Regions from separate parts of the Homo sapiens genome. Here regions 1, 2 and 3 are each linked to region 4. Evidence: promoter capture Hi-C in human tissues and cell types (Jung and others, 2019). All regions are on one chromosome and are shown on one strand. Each heading gives the region's core, a stretch centred on a gene start or on the middle of the fragment in contact. The rest is flanking DNA. Distances are from core to core; before and after follow the strand shown. Region 1 overlaps SLC9C2 (solute carrier family 9 member C2 (putative)). Region 2 overlaps SLC9C2 (solute carrier family 9 member C2 (putative)). Region 3 has its middle 60 kb from the start of RC3H1-DT. Region 4 holds the start of DARS2 (aspartyl-tRNA synthetase 2, mitochondrial).

Region 1 (2,774 bases), core at 112-2,611, 290 kb after region 4:
GACTTTTATATTTCACATAGTATTTTCTGAAGAATTTGAATATACAGGACAGATTATAAATTTGATATATATTTATCCTATGATAATACATCTGTGGCCAATGGCAAGAGGTTTAAATGTATCAGCACTGATATCAATAAACTACTATTTTATGTTTTTATATGTATTAGAATCAACATTGAAGGTACTGTTTAAAATAGAAATAGAATCTATAAAAAGAGCAATTCAGGTATTTTGAATCTATTTTGTCATATTATTGAAGTAACTTGATACCAAGAGCCATTTGCTATGATAGTTGATGAGATCCTAGAATTTTAGTAAGCTTTTTGAATTTTCCAAGTTTAATAGTGAAATTAGTATAAGAGTCATGGTATTGGACATCAGTTAAGTATCATAAAAGTAGAGAGATTCTCAAGGATCAGGTAAAGGAGAATTGAAAATCCAGACATGGACGTTTCCCTCAAATATTTTGTGTAATGATGCAAGAAATAAATAAGTGAATAAGAATTGGTTTGCTAGGTCTTTGTCATAAAATGTGAGTTAATTATTAGTATAAATGTGTAAAAGGTGATTTATGAGCATTACTATTTCATACTTTATTATTAATAGTATTGCAATGAATCTGTTTATTGCTATTTTTAATAGTTGTTTTTGGCATTCCAGCTTTATTATAGAGTATATATTTTAAATCAAATTATAAATGGTGAAGATTTTAAAGAATTTTTGGGGGGATTCCAAATGAATAACTTAAAGCTCAACTTTCGGAATATAACTCATTTGTAGTTAAGAACTTAGTTGTTAATTTTATAGATTTCTTCCCCCCAACATTACTGTATAGGTGCTATGAAATGACATTTGTTTTCTGTACAGATAATAATTTTGAAAAGGAAATATTTTCAACAATGTTGGAATACTTTGGAATTTTTTATCCTGGTTATTGGAATCATTGATATCTTTTGTGTATACTTTGTGAAATTGAGACCAGACAACTTGGCTCTTATACAGCTTACAGTAATAATGGGATATTTAAGAATAATTAGGTTTCTTCCTCTCTTCAAGGTAAGATTTCACATTTTAAAATATTAAGATTTGCCAGGAGTGGTAGCTCACACCTATAATCCCAGCACTTTGGGAGGCCTAGGTGGGTGGATTGCTTGAGTCCAGAAGTTTGAGACAACCTGGGTAACATAGCAAGACCCCATCACTACAAAAAATTAATAAATTAGCTGGGCATGATGGTGTGCACCTGTGGTCCCAGCTACTTGGGAGGCTGAGGTGGGAGGATCGCTTGAGCCCAGGAGGTGAGGCTGCAGTGAGCTGAGATTGTGCCATTGCACTCCAGTCAGACAGAGTGCAATGATGGCTCTGGTGACAGAGCCAGACTCTGTCTCAAAAAATAATAATAATAATAAAATAAAGTATTAAAATTCTTTTTTTACATTGTGTGTTAAGTGAGTAAGAAACCTCATTGTTTTGAAAGAAATGAGAGCAGGAGTTGTCTCTTCTGGAACACCCTCTCAATAGGTATCTGCATGGTTCCCTTTCTCGTCACCTTCAAGCCATTGCTCAAATCTCAGCTTGTCACAGAGGCCTCTCCTGACCAGCCTATGTCAACTGGCAACCCACCCTTCACACCCTCAATTTCTACCTCATCCTCCTGATTACCCTCTACCTGCTCAACTTTAATTTTTGCCCCACAGTACTTATCAGCAATTTACTGTATATTGTATGTACTCTCTGTGAGGTAGAGATCTTTGTTTTGGTCTTTCTTTTTACATTTTTTAATAGAAATGGGATCTCACTTTATTGTCCAGGCTGGTCTAAAGCTCCTGGGCTCCAGCAATCCTCCTGTTTCGGCCTCCCAAAGTGCTGGGATTACAGGCATGAACCACCATACTCGGCCTGTTTTGGTCATTGATGTAACCTCTGCCTCCAGAACAGTGCCTGGCGTATAGTAAGCACTTAATAAATATTTGTTGAGTGAAAGAATAAAAATCTTGGTGCCAGTAGAAGCAGGGTAACCCAAATACAAGTTCTTTAAGTTTCAGTAAAATTTGTTCATGTCTCCCAAACTGTACAGAAACAAAAATATTTCCTCCATAGCTCCACAGTCACATAGGATACTACCTATGGAATTTAATTTTACTGTGGCCTTCAATTTCCTTAACAATTACTATGCCTTCATTCCATGACTCTGGTTTTGATACTGAAGGCAGATTTTTATACTTTCAGTTTCAATTCTTAAACCTCCTTTCTCTCTTTCCAATGGAGTTGCATTACATAAGCTTTTAACTTCAGGGCTTTAAATGATTTCACTTGCCATGCCATGTTTGTTGTTGTTTAATTCTTATTACATCAAGCAAATCTATTATATTAGTATTTATTGAAGTTAGATACAGAGACTTAACATTAAAAAAATTGCTATAAACTCTGATGGTGAAATGCACATATTAGACTCCTCCACCTACTTCCCATTCTCCACAACATTTAATAGTTATCTTTAAGGCAGAATTGTTTGACTATCCAGTTTGTGCTTACAGATTTTCTTTTTTGTTCCTTCATTTATTCTACATTGGTGTGACCAAACTTTAGTGTTCATAAGAATTACCGTTCAGAGTTACTGTACCTGGTTTAAAGGGTAATTTTGATTCAATGTGCTTTTTGCCTTATGAGCTGAGTTTGGAGCAAAGTGCTCATGTAAGGTGTAACTCCACCGTCATGTAAACTGTCCTAGAAATCAGGATGTGTTGTGTGATGCAAAGACTTAAAATGGA
Region 2 (3,025 bases), core at 484-2,983, 320 kb after region 4:
TGAGCCAAAGAATTCTCAATCTTTGGAGACTATATGATGCAAAAGAGCAGGATCCAGAGTCTTAGGGGTGTGTGGAGTGGAAGGAAATGTTGTTTTAGCTATTTCATGTCATTTCATTTTTGGAAGAGGAGAGAAGGCATGAGTTTAGTCATAAGGCTGAATTGAATTCACTGAAGTTCGTGTAACTTGAATCTGAAAGTGTATCTTTTTTATTCAGCTAAACTATTTGCCTCTGGAAACAAATACTGTGAATGAGCTCATGTTATCTACCATGACAATAAAAATAGATAAGTTCATATGGCTTAGTTCCTGAATCCTGGACTTTGGGCTCATGAGCCATATCCTTCATTATATCTATTGACTGATATACATTTTTCTGGTCTCTTATTAAAGTCTATAGCTTTAATCACACCATACATTTTATCATCTTATACTTAGCAAACAACCATTTTCACAATACAAATGCTTCTAAATGACAAGAGTATCATAATTATGCTAGAATTGATAGTTTTTCTGAAGGTTAAATCTGCAGGCATCTTGTTTTTTGATGGTCTTGTAATTTAGTTCCACATCAAGCTGCTATGGCCTGGTTCCTTTTTGTTTCAGGCCTGCTTTATCTCCCTGGAGGATTTATATGAAGGCTTTGATGCCTTCTGGCCATCTCTGGAATATAAAATATGGCTAAAGCTTGCTCTCAGTACTGCCTATCAGTATTTTGAATCAAGTCTTATTGATGAGGTAAGTTATGTGATTAAAATATTAATAAATTGAATTTTTATGCATTGTATTTTTTACAAAATGCATTTCATATTTTTGAGACAAAAATAGAAAGGAAATTTGTGTTTGATTTTTTTTTTTTTTGAGACAGAGGCTCACTCTGTTGCCCAGGCTGGAGTGCAATGGTGCAGTCTCAGCTCACTACAACCTCTGTCTCCCAGGTTGAAGCAATTCTCCTGCCTCAGCCTCCCAAGTAACTGGGATTATAGGCGCCTGCCCCCACCTCTGGCTAATTTTTTTTATTATTAGTAGAGACAGGATTTCACCATGTTGGCCAGGCTGGTGTTGAACTCCTGACCTCAAGTGATCTACTCACCTCGGCCTCCCAAAGTGCTGGGATTATAGGCGTGAGCCACTGTGCCTGGCCCTGTGTCTGCTTTTCTAAAATGAGATTGCTAGAATTTTAACTGCTCTCTTATCCTGAGTTCCTACAGGTTGTCAATCCTTTTGTCACAGCTAATTTTCCCAAGCTACTTGCAATCATTTCTAAAAAAAAAAAGAAGGTAGATTTAGCAAATTCAAAATAGGTAGATCCCCCCCTGAACCAAGCATAGTGTTAATCAGAATGTGTTAACAAACGCTCTGTCTGTATTTATTATTGCCTACTCTGCCGATGTTAATATAAGTCTGTAAATCTCCTGCCTTTTCAAAATCTTTGTGGAGGTGACTGAGCCTCTCTCATGGACTTCCCCTCCAAAGAGTAGTGGTTCAAGTTTTCTCTGGACAAGCACAATTTACAATCTCACATTTGTATCCTATTTAGTAACTATTGGAACCCTTACTAGCTAGTGAGTCAGGAACTGGGGAAGTGAACTGGGAAAGATTGGAAGTTCAGTAATATTCACTGAACTGAGCGACTGGGTATAAATAAATATTGGGTTAAAAAATGAGTGTGTCATACAAGCCAGTCAGGTTTCTTTTACTTTATTGCAATAATAACTTTCAGAAAAATTTTAGCAGAGGGATAAGGGGATTGGAATTCTTCTCTTTTCCTTTTACCTTGCATCTTCATGAGAAGTGGGACAAATTTAGAGTCTAGTATGAAACTTCAGGGGTGAGAATTAGGACCAATGGGTAGAAACTGTATGGACTCAGACTTGACTCAATAATAAGATGAATGTCCTTTAAATTTTTTTAAATTCACAAGCAACACATATTCATTATATAAATGAGAAAGTACAGATATAAAACATTAAAAAAATTGTATTTATTATTAAATAGAGAATCTCTATTTAATACTTAGTTTCTTTCTTTTTTTTTCCATTAAAGAACTAGCCAATTAAGATTTTTTTCCCTCTAAATCACAGAACTCAAAATGTATATGCATTTTAAAATCAAACCAAAACAGCTGATTTTTTTTTAGATTTTCTGGTTGTGAAATACTAGATACATTTGCTAATTTTTAAATGTTTTTGGTTCCCAGTTGTGCTGGTGCCCTCAGCAAATAAATGTATGATTCACCTGTCAGTGACTGAGATTCAGGGACTGGCTCATGTAGCTGTGCCCTGAATGGGGGTGGAGATGTTTAGACTGAGCTGACAGCCCTGTCAGGGCCCTGTGCAGGAGATGCCTACTGTTGGGCTGATCTCTAAATTCCTGGGTTAGTTTGCAAGCACGGCTGTAACAAAGTACCACAAACTGGGTGGCGTAAAAAAACCAGAAATGCATCGTTTCACAGTTCTGGAGGCTAGAAATTAGAAATCAAGGTGTTGGGAGGATTGGCTCCTACTGAGGGGCTGTGAGGGAGAATCTGGGCCAGGCCTCCCTCCTTGGCTTATAAATGGCTGCCTTTATATTCACGTGGCGTTCTCCCTGTGTGCAAGTCTGCGTCCAAGTTTCCCCTTTTTATAAGGACACTAGTTGTTCAAATTAGAGGCCCAACCTATTCCAGTATGACTTCATCTTAACTAATTGCATCTGCAATGACCCATTTCAATAAGGTCACATTCCAGGATACTGGGAGTTAGGACTTCAGCATAAGAATTGGGTGGGAGGTGGTGTGTGTGTGTGTGTGTGTGTGCACAATTCAACCCATAATAACTCCCTCCCAGTTCTAAAGTCTATGACTCTGAGCCTTGAAGTATAGCTCAGACTCTAGCTTGCTTTGTTTTGGCTTTGTGTTATTCCTATTCACCTGTCAAGTGGAACATAAGCTTACTTGTAAGTGAAACTCTGAATCTTTTAAGACTCTGAGTCTTGTGCAAATAGAAATCTCCTGAGTCATAGCCAACTACCCTGCTGTGGCTGA
Region 3 (3,010 bases), core at 33-2,532, 260 kb before region 4:
ACTAGGAAAAAAAAGTCAGAATTGAAAATTGTAAGGCCCAACATTCACAATAGCACTAAAAGACATGAAAGACTGGCTGGGCGCGGTGGCTCACACCTGTAATCCCCGCACTTTGGGAGGCCAAGGCGGGTGGATCACCTGAGGTCAAGAGTTTGAGACCAGCCTGACCATCATGGTGAAACCCCATCTCTACTAAAAATACAAAAATTAGCCAGGCATGGTGGCATGCGCCTGTATTCCCAACTACTCGGGAGGCTGAGACAGAATTGCTTGAGCCCGGGAGGTGGAGGTTGCAGTGAGCCCAGATCATGCCACTGCACTCCAGTAGGTGGGACTACAGACGCATGCCACCATGCCCTGCTAATTTTGCAATTTTTTGTAGAGATGGAGTTTCGCCATGTTGCCTAGGATGGTCTCGAACTCCTGGGCTGAAGTGATCCTCCCACCTTCACCTCCCAAATGCTGGGATTATAGGCGTGAGGCACCACACCTGGCAGCTTTTTTATTTATTTTTATTTATTTATTTTTTGAGATGGAGTTTTGCTCCAGATTCATTCTTCCGTATGTGGCTTGCCAATTATCCCAGCATCATTTGTTGAATAGGGTGTCCTTTCCCCACTTATGTTTTTGTTTGCTTTGTTGAAGATCAGTTGGCTATAAGTAGTTGGCTTTATTTCTGGGTTCTCTATTTTGTTCCATTGGTCTATGTGCCTATTTTTATGCCAGTACTATGATGTTTTGGTGACTATCCCCTTGTAGTATAGTTTGAAATCAGGTAATGTGATGCCTCTGGATTTGTTCTTTTTTTTTTTTTTTTGAGATGGAGTTTTGCTCTTGTTGCCCAGGCTGGAGGTGCAGTGATGCGATTACTGCAACCTCCACCTCCTGGTTCCAGCAATTCTCCTGCCTCAGCCTCCCTAGTAGCTGGGATTAGAGCCGCGTGCCACCACACCCAGCTAATTTTTTGTATTTTTAGTAGAGATGGAGTTTCACTATGTTGGCCAGAATGGTCTCGAACTCCTGCCCTCAGGTGATCCACCCACCTTGGCCTCCCAAAGTGCTGGGATTACAGGTGTGAGCCACCACGCCCAGCCAGATTAGTTCTTTTTGCTTAGTATTGTTTTGGCTATGCGGGCTCTTTTTTTTGTTCCATATGAATTTTAGGATTGCTTTTTCTAGTTCTGTGAAGAATGACAGTGGTATTTTGATGGGAATTGCATTGAATTTACAGATGAATAGAATGTATATTCTGCAGTTGTTGGGTAGAATGTTCTGTAAATATCTGTTAAGTTCATTTGTTCTAGGGTATAGTATAAGTCCATTGTTCCTTTTTAGGCTTTCTGTCTTGATGATCTGTCTAGTGCTGTCAGTGGAGTATTGAGGTCCCCCACTATTATTGTGTTGCCGTCTATCTCATTTCTTAGGTCTAGTAGTAATTGTTTTGTGAATTTGGGAGCTCTAGAATTAGGTGCATATATGTTTAAGATTGTGATATTTTCCTGTTGGACTACTCCTTTAATCATTACATAATGTCCCTCTTTGTCTTTTTTACCTGTTGTTACTTTAAGGTCTTTTTTTTTTTTTGTCTGACATAAAAATAGATATTCCTGCATGCTTTTGATGTTCATTTGCATGGAATATCTTTTTCCACCCCTTTACCTTAAGTTTATGTGAGTCCTTATGTGTTAGCTGAGTTTCTTGAAGACAGCAGACACTTGATTGGTGAATTCTTATCCATTCTGCCATTCTATGTCTTTTAAGTGGATCATTTAGGCCATTTACATTCAACGTCAATATTGAGATGTGAGATACTATTCTGTTCATCCTGCTAGTTGTTGCCTGAATACCTTATGTTTGTTGTTGTTGTTGTTATTGTTTTAGAAGCCCTGTGGGATTTATCCTTTAAAGTGGTTCTATTTTGGTGTATTTCGAGGTTTTGATTCAAGATTTAGAACTCCTTTTAGCATTTCTTGTAGCGCTGGCATGGTAGCGGCGAATTCTCTCAGCATTTGTTTGTCTGAAAAAGACTTTATCTTTTCTTCACTTAATGAAGTTTAGGTTTGCTGGATACAAGATTCTTGGCTAATAATTGTTTTGTTTAAGGATGCTAAAGATAGGACCCCAATCCCTTCTAGCTTGTAGGGTTTCTGCTGAGAAATCTACTGTTATTCTGATAGGTTTTCCTTTATAGGTTACCAGATGCTTTTGCCCTCACCATCCTTAAGATTCTTTCTTTTGCCTCGACTTTAGATAACCTGATGACTGTGTATCTAGGTGATTATCTTTTTGTGATGAATGTACTGGGTGTTCTTTGAGCTTCTTGTATTTGGATGTCTAGATCTCTAGGAAGGCCAGAGAAGTTTTCCTCGATTATTCCCTCAAATAAGTTTTCCAGACTTTCAGATTTCTCTTCTTCCTCAGGAACACCTGATGGCAGTGACAGGTCTCATCCAGCTCCCATGCAGCCAGCAAAGCCAGTCTCACTCCCACCATGCCCCACCAACAGCATGGAGTTTATATCCAGGTGAGCAGGACTGAGATCTTGCCCCAGGCTACAAGCTTCCCTGCTGAGAAAGCAAGCAGGGCTTTCAGGCCCTGCCCCTCCCTGCCTGCTGTGTCTTCCATGCTCTTATCTGCACTCCTTGTTCACCCCCTTCTCCATTTTGCCCAGGAAAATTCACACTCCATCAAAATTATTACAAAGTTCAGCTTGAAGTTTCTTTCCCCCTGTGGTCCTTTCCCAGTTCCACTGGCAGCCCCCCAACAAAGACCCCTGTGAGAAAAAGTCAGAAATGGCTTTCCTGGCCTTCCTGGGGACCAGGAGTGCCTATAGGGCTTTTCCCACTGCTTCTTCTACCTTCATATTTCACTCAACTCTCTAAATTTGTTTCAGCTCTAGGTTAGGTCAAATCCTTCTCCCGTGATCTGGATTTTCAGGTTCCCCACTGAGGATGTGTGTTCAGAGGCAGACTTTCCCCTCTCACATATTGGCCACTCACAGTTTTTTTAC
Region 4 (2,969 bases), core at 51-2,550:
GGGATTAACGACGTGAGCCACCGCGCCCGGCCGAAGAAGGATTTTTTTAAGGCATCAACCAAAAGCAGAGTATTCTATATATTACGTGGTTACCTTTTTGTGGTCTTTCTAAAAACTCAGGGAAAAAAAACTGCCGTATAATGAATATAATGAGAGTGAATTTCGCTTCTACACATAAGGCTATCCAGTTAAGAACAGGGGAAAAGCCGGGCGCGGTGGCTCACGCCTGTAATCCCAGCACTATGGGAGGCGGAGGCGGGTGGATCACGAGGTCAGGAGATCGAGACCATCCTGGCTAACACAGTGAAACCCCGGCTCTACCAAAAATACAGAAAAATTAGCCGGGCGTGGTCGCGGGCGCCTGTAGTCCCAGCTACTCGGGAGGCTGAGGCAGGAGAATGGCGTGAACCCGGGAGGCGGAGCTTGCAGTGAGCGGAGATCGCGCCACTTCACTCTAGCCTGGGCAGCAGAGCGAGACTCCGTCTCAAATAATAATAATAATAATAATAATAATAATAATAATGGGGGAAAAAATGAAAAATGGAATAAAAGCTCTCCGGCCGTAGATAACAGGCTGAAGTACTGTTCATAGGATAGATCTCTTCGCTATTTTCACCTGGAATTCTCCTCTGTGAACTCTGCAACAGACTTCTGTAGAGAGAACCCCAGATCGGTTGGGTGGTCCTTCTGATGGGTCTGGATAAACCCCTGTACAGCTGACTTAACCAAGAAGGGAAGTACATGTTGGAGCCACACGATGGCGAAAAACAATCACGAAATCCCACGCTGCCGGTAGTTAAAAGTCAGTTTTGGAAATACACAGAAATCCCTTAAAATTCCAGGAGTTCCCACTCTCTTCTCGAATATTTAAGGCCTCCTCCGCACAACATTGGAGTACACGTGTCTAGAAACAAGACAAATCTCCAAGGTCTCTGGGGTGCTTGCTGGGGTGGAGATAAGGGAAAGACCTCTCCCTGAGTCTTAAAGCATCAGTCTGCACTTCTACTCAACAAGTCGGCAGCCAAAAGTGACGACGAGAGAGCGACTCCACGTAGCGGCGCCAGGCGCGAGCCCAAGACAACCAGAGGCGGTCACAAGGTATACGCCCTTCTCCTCTTTCCACGCTTCTCGAGAGGCTCCCGCGGCCAGAACCGGAAAACAAGGAGTAACAGTCGCGTTTCAAATCTCGCAGACCTGCTGGCCGATTTCGAGTCTTCTGAAAGAGGAAGGCGAGCAAAGCCAAAATTCTCCCAGAGCGCGAACCCAAACACAGATCGCCGCTGGGGTCCAAGCGCCCTTCAACTCCGCCCGCTAGTGCCCAAGATTACCGGGAAGGAATTCAACGAATCAGTGGTGAGGTGCCGCCGCCATGCCTACTACGGGCGGAAATTTGAGAGAAAGCTTCGCACCGGTAGGAAAACTGAGGAGCAACCGAGCACGATTGGAAAGGTTGACGATAGTGGTTAAGTGGCTCGGCCTTGCCCTCAGTTAAAATGGCAATTTTAGTTGCTTCACTGATACGGAATCGGCGAGGCGCCAAGGAGGCTTCCTGCGTGGGGCCGCAGAGCGAGTCGGGAAACGATTTTAAACTGAAGAGGCGGCGGAGGGCCGAATTCCCTTTTCTCAACGGCTTGATTTCAGAGCTGGGCTGGTCTCTGACAGGCTCAGCTGGAGAGGGACGGGTTGGGACGCACTGTCCTTTTGCCCTTCCCCCTCCGCGAGCAGAAGCTGACTCCGCAGGAGCGAGGGTCGCAGAGCTGGGTGAGCGGAAATGTCCCTCCCAGAGTGAAGTCGCAGGGCCCGCCCCGCGTCTGAGGGAGCGGAGGTCTTCCTGGGTGCGTTTGTGTCTCTTGTGAACCCACTTGTGGAGCGAGAGGGAATTTGGGAGGGCCAGGGGTTAGTCTGGCCTCTGTCTTAGCTGTCATTTTGGCGGTTTTTTTTTTTTTTCTTCAGGGGATTTCAGTCTCCACATAGTTTTGGAGCCGGACTTTTGAAGAATGATTCGTGAATCCGGAATGGGTGACAGCGTCATCACGGCATTTTATTGGTAAAGATGCTTTGTATTGGTCCCGGACCTGCTTTAACTTTGTATTTGCCCTGTTGTGTGGTCATTATCTTACAATACTTGCGTGTTGAGGTGTGTTTAAACACTACGTGCTTAACACTGGCTAAGTATTGGCATTGGGGCGGTTGGATTTAGGTATTGGTGGCAATGTAGAAAAGTGATCAAGTCAGAGCCCCTTCACGGACTAATCACAAGAGAAACAACAAAGCTTTACTTGTGTGCTGTGAACCACAACTGCAAGTGGAATTGTCAAGAGAACTAGCCCTGCCAAGCTCAGGAAAACTTCTGAGGAGATGGCACATGGAAAATGGATAAGATTTACTGAGACAAACGGGAGTAGAGAAGTGTTTTTAATTGGCGATAAGGTGAATAAAAAGGCAGGGAGAACAGTAGAGTGATCATCTGTCTAGAGTAGGGGGTGCATGTTTGGGTATAGGGCTGTCATTTAACCTCTTAAAGAATTGTCTACTGGAACTTTCTTCACTCCCATCCCCCCACCCCCCAATGTTGTATACAAAACCTTAGAGGAAGTGTATGCAGAATGTTGGATTTTGGAAAGGCTAATGTCGATGGATCTTGGGGAAGAACTGAAGTAGTAGAAAATGAACCTGGATAGGATCAGATAATAAGATCAAATACAGTAGTGCCTTGAAAGCCAGACAGGAATTCTGATTTGACTTCATATAGATGTGTGGGAACTGTTATGGGATCTCAAGCAAGGTAATGATAAAAGTGGTGACAATGAAAGACTGATGATGGATTAGGGAAAGGGGCTAAGATTGGGAACAAGATAAGTAGCTATAATTGAGAATGAAAGTGAAGCCCACATCTAAGAGGACAAGTGTATATCTTTTTAAGAAATATGTCAGAGGCCAGGTGTGGTGGCTTATGCCTGTAATCCAGC

The links. Contacts are between HindIII fragments. The study calls those that stand out against the background at their distance.
Region 1: a contact is called between a fragment that was not itself captured here and the fragment with the promoter of DARS2 in region 4, in 1 of the 25 tissues and cell types used here (hippocampus).
Region 2: a fragment that was not itself captured here is called in contact with the fragment with the promoter of DARS2 in region 4 in 1 of the 25 tissues and cell types used here (mesendoderm cells).
Region 3: a fragment that was not itself captured here is called in contact with the fragment with the promoter of DARS2 in region 4 in 1 of the 25 tissues and cell types used here (hippocampus).

The regions. Positions count from the first base shown.
Region 1 is chr1:173,531,894-173,534,667 of GRCh38, reverse strand. SLC9C2 (solute carrier family 9 member C2 (putative)) reads left to right here. Exons shown (of 28, transcript NM_178527.4): 16 at 1-184; 17 at 871-1,059. Among named protein-coding and RNA genes, the nearest start is that of PRDX6, 56 kb to the right of the region's middle. The HindIII fragment of the contact is 3,914 bases long and covers 1-2,774 here.
Region 2 is chr1:173,507,281-173,510,305 of GRCh38, reverse strand. SLC9C2 (solute carrier family 9 member C2 (putative)) reads left to right here. Exons shown (of 28, transcript NM_178527.4): 24 at 607-738. Among named protein-coding and RNA genes, the nearest start is that of PRDX6, 31 kb to the right of the region's middle. The HindIII fragment of the contact is 5,494 bases long and covers 1-3,025 here.
Region 3 is chr1:174,080,557-174,083,566 of GRCh38, reverse strand. No RefSeq gene overlaps it. Among named protein-coding and RNA genes, the nearest start is that of RC3H1-DT, 60 kb to the right of the region's middle. The HindIII fragment of the contact is 9,405 bases long and covers 1-3,010 here.
Region 4 is chr1:173,823,004-173,825,972 of GRCh38, reverse strand. It overlaps DARS2 (aspartyl-tRNA synthetase 2, mitochondrial), which reads right to left and starts at 1,300. Exons shown (of 17, transcript NM_018122.5): 1 at 617-1,300. The coding sequence starts at 743. CENPL (centromere protein L) reads left to right here and starts at 1,090. Exons shown (of 6, transcript NM_001387287.1): 1 at 1,090-1,761; 2 at 1,954-2,047. RefSeq lists enhancers at 560-1,077, 784-1,343, 1,078-1,596, 1,574-1,813. The HindIII fragment of the contact is 1,671 bases long and covers 167-1,837 here.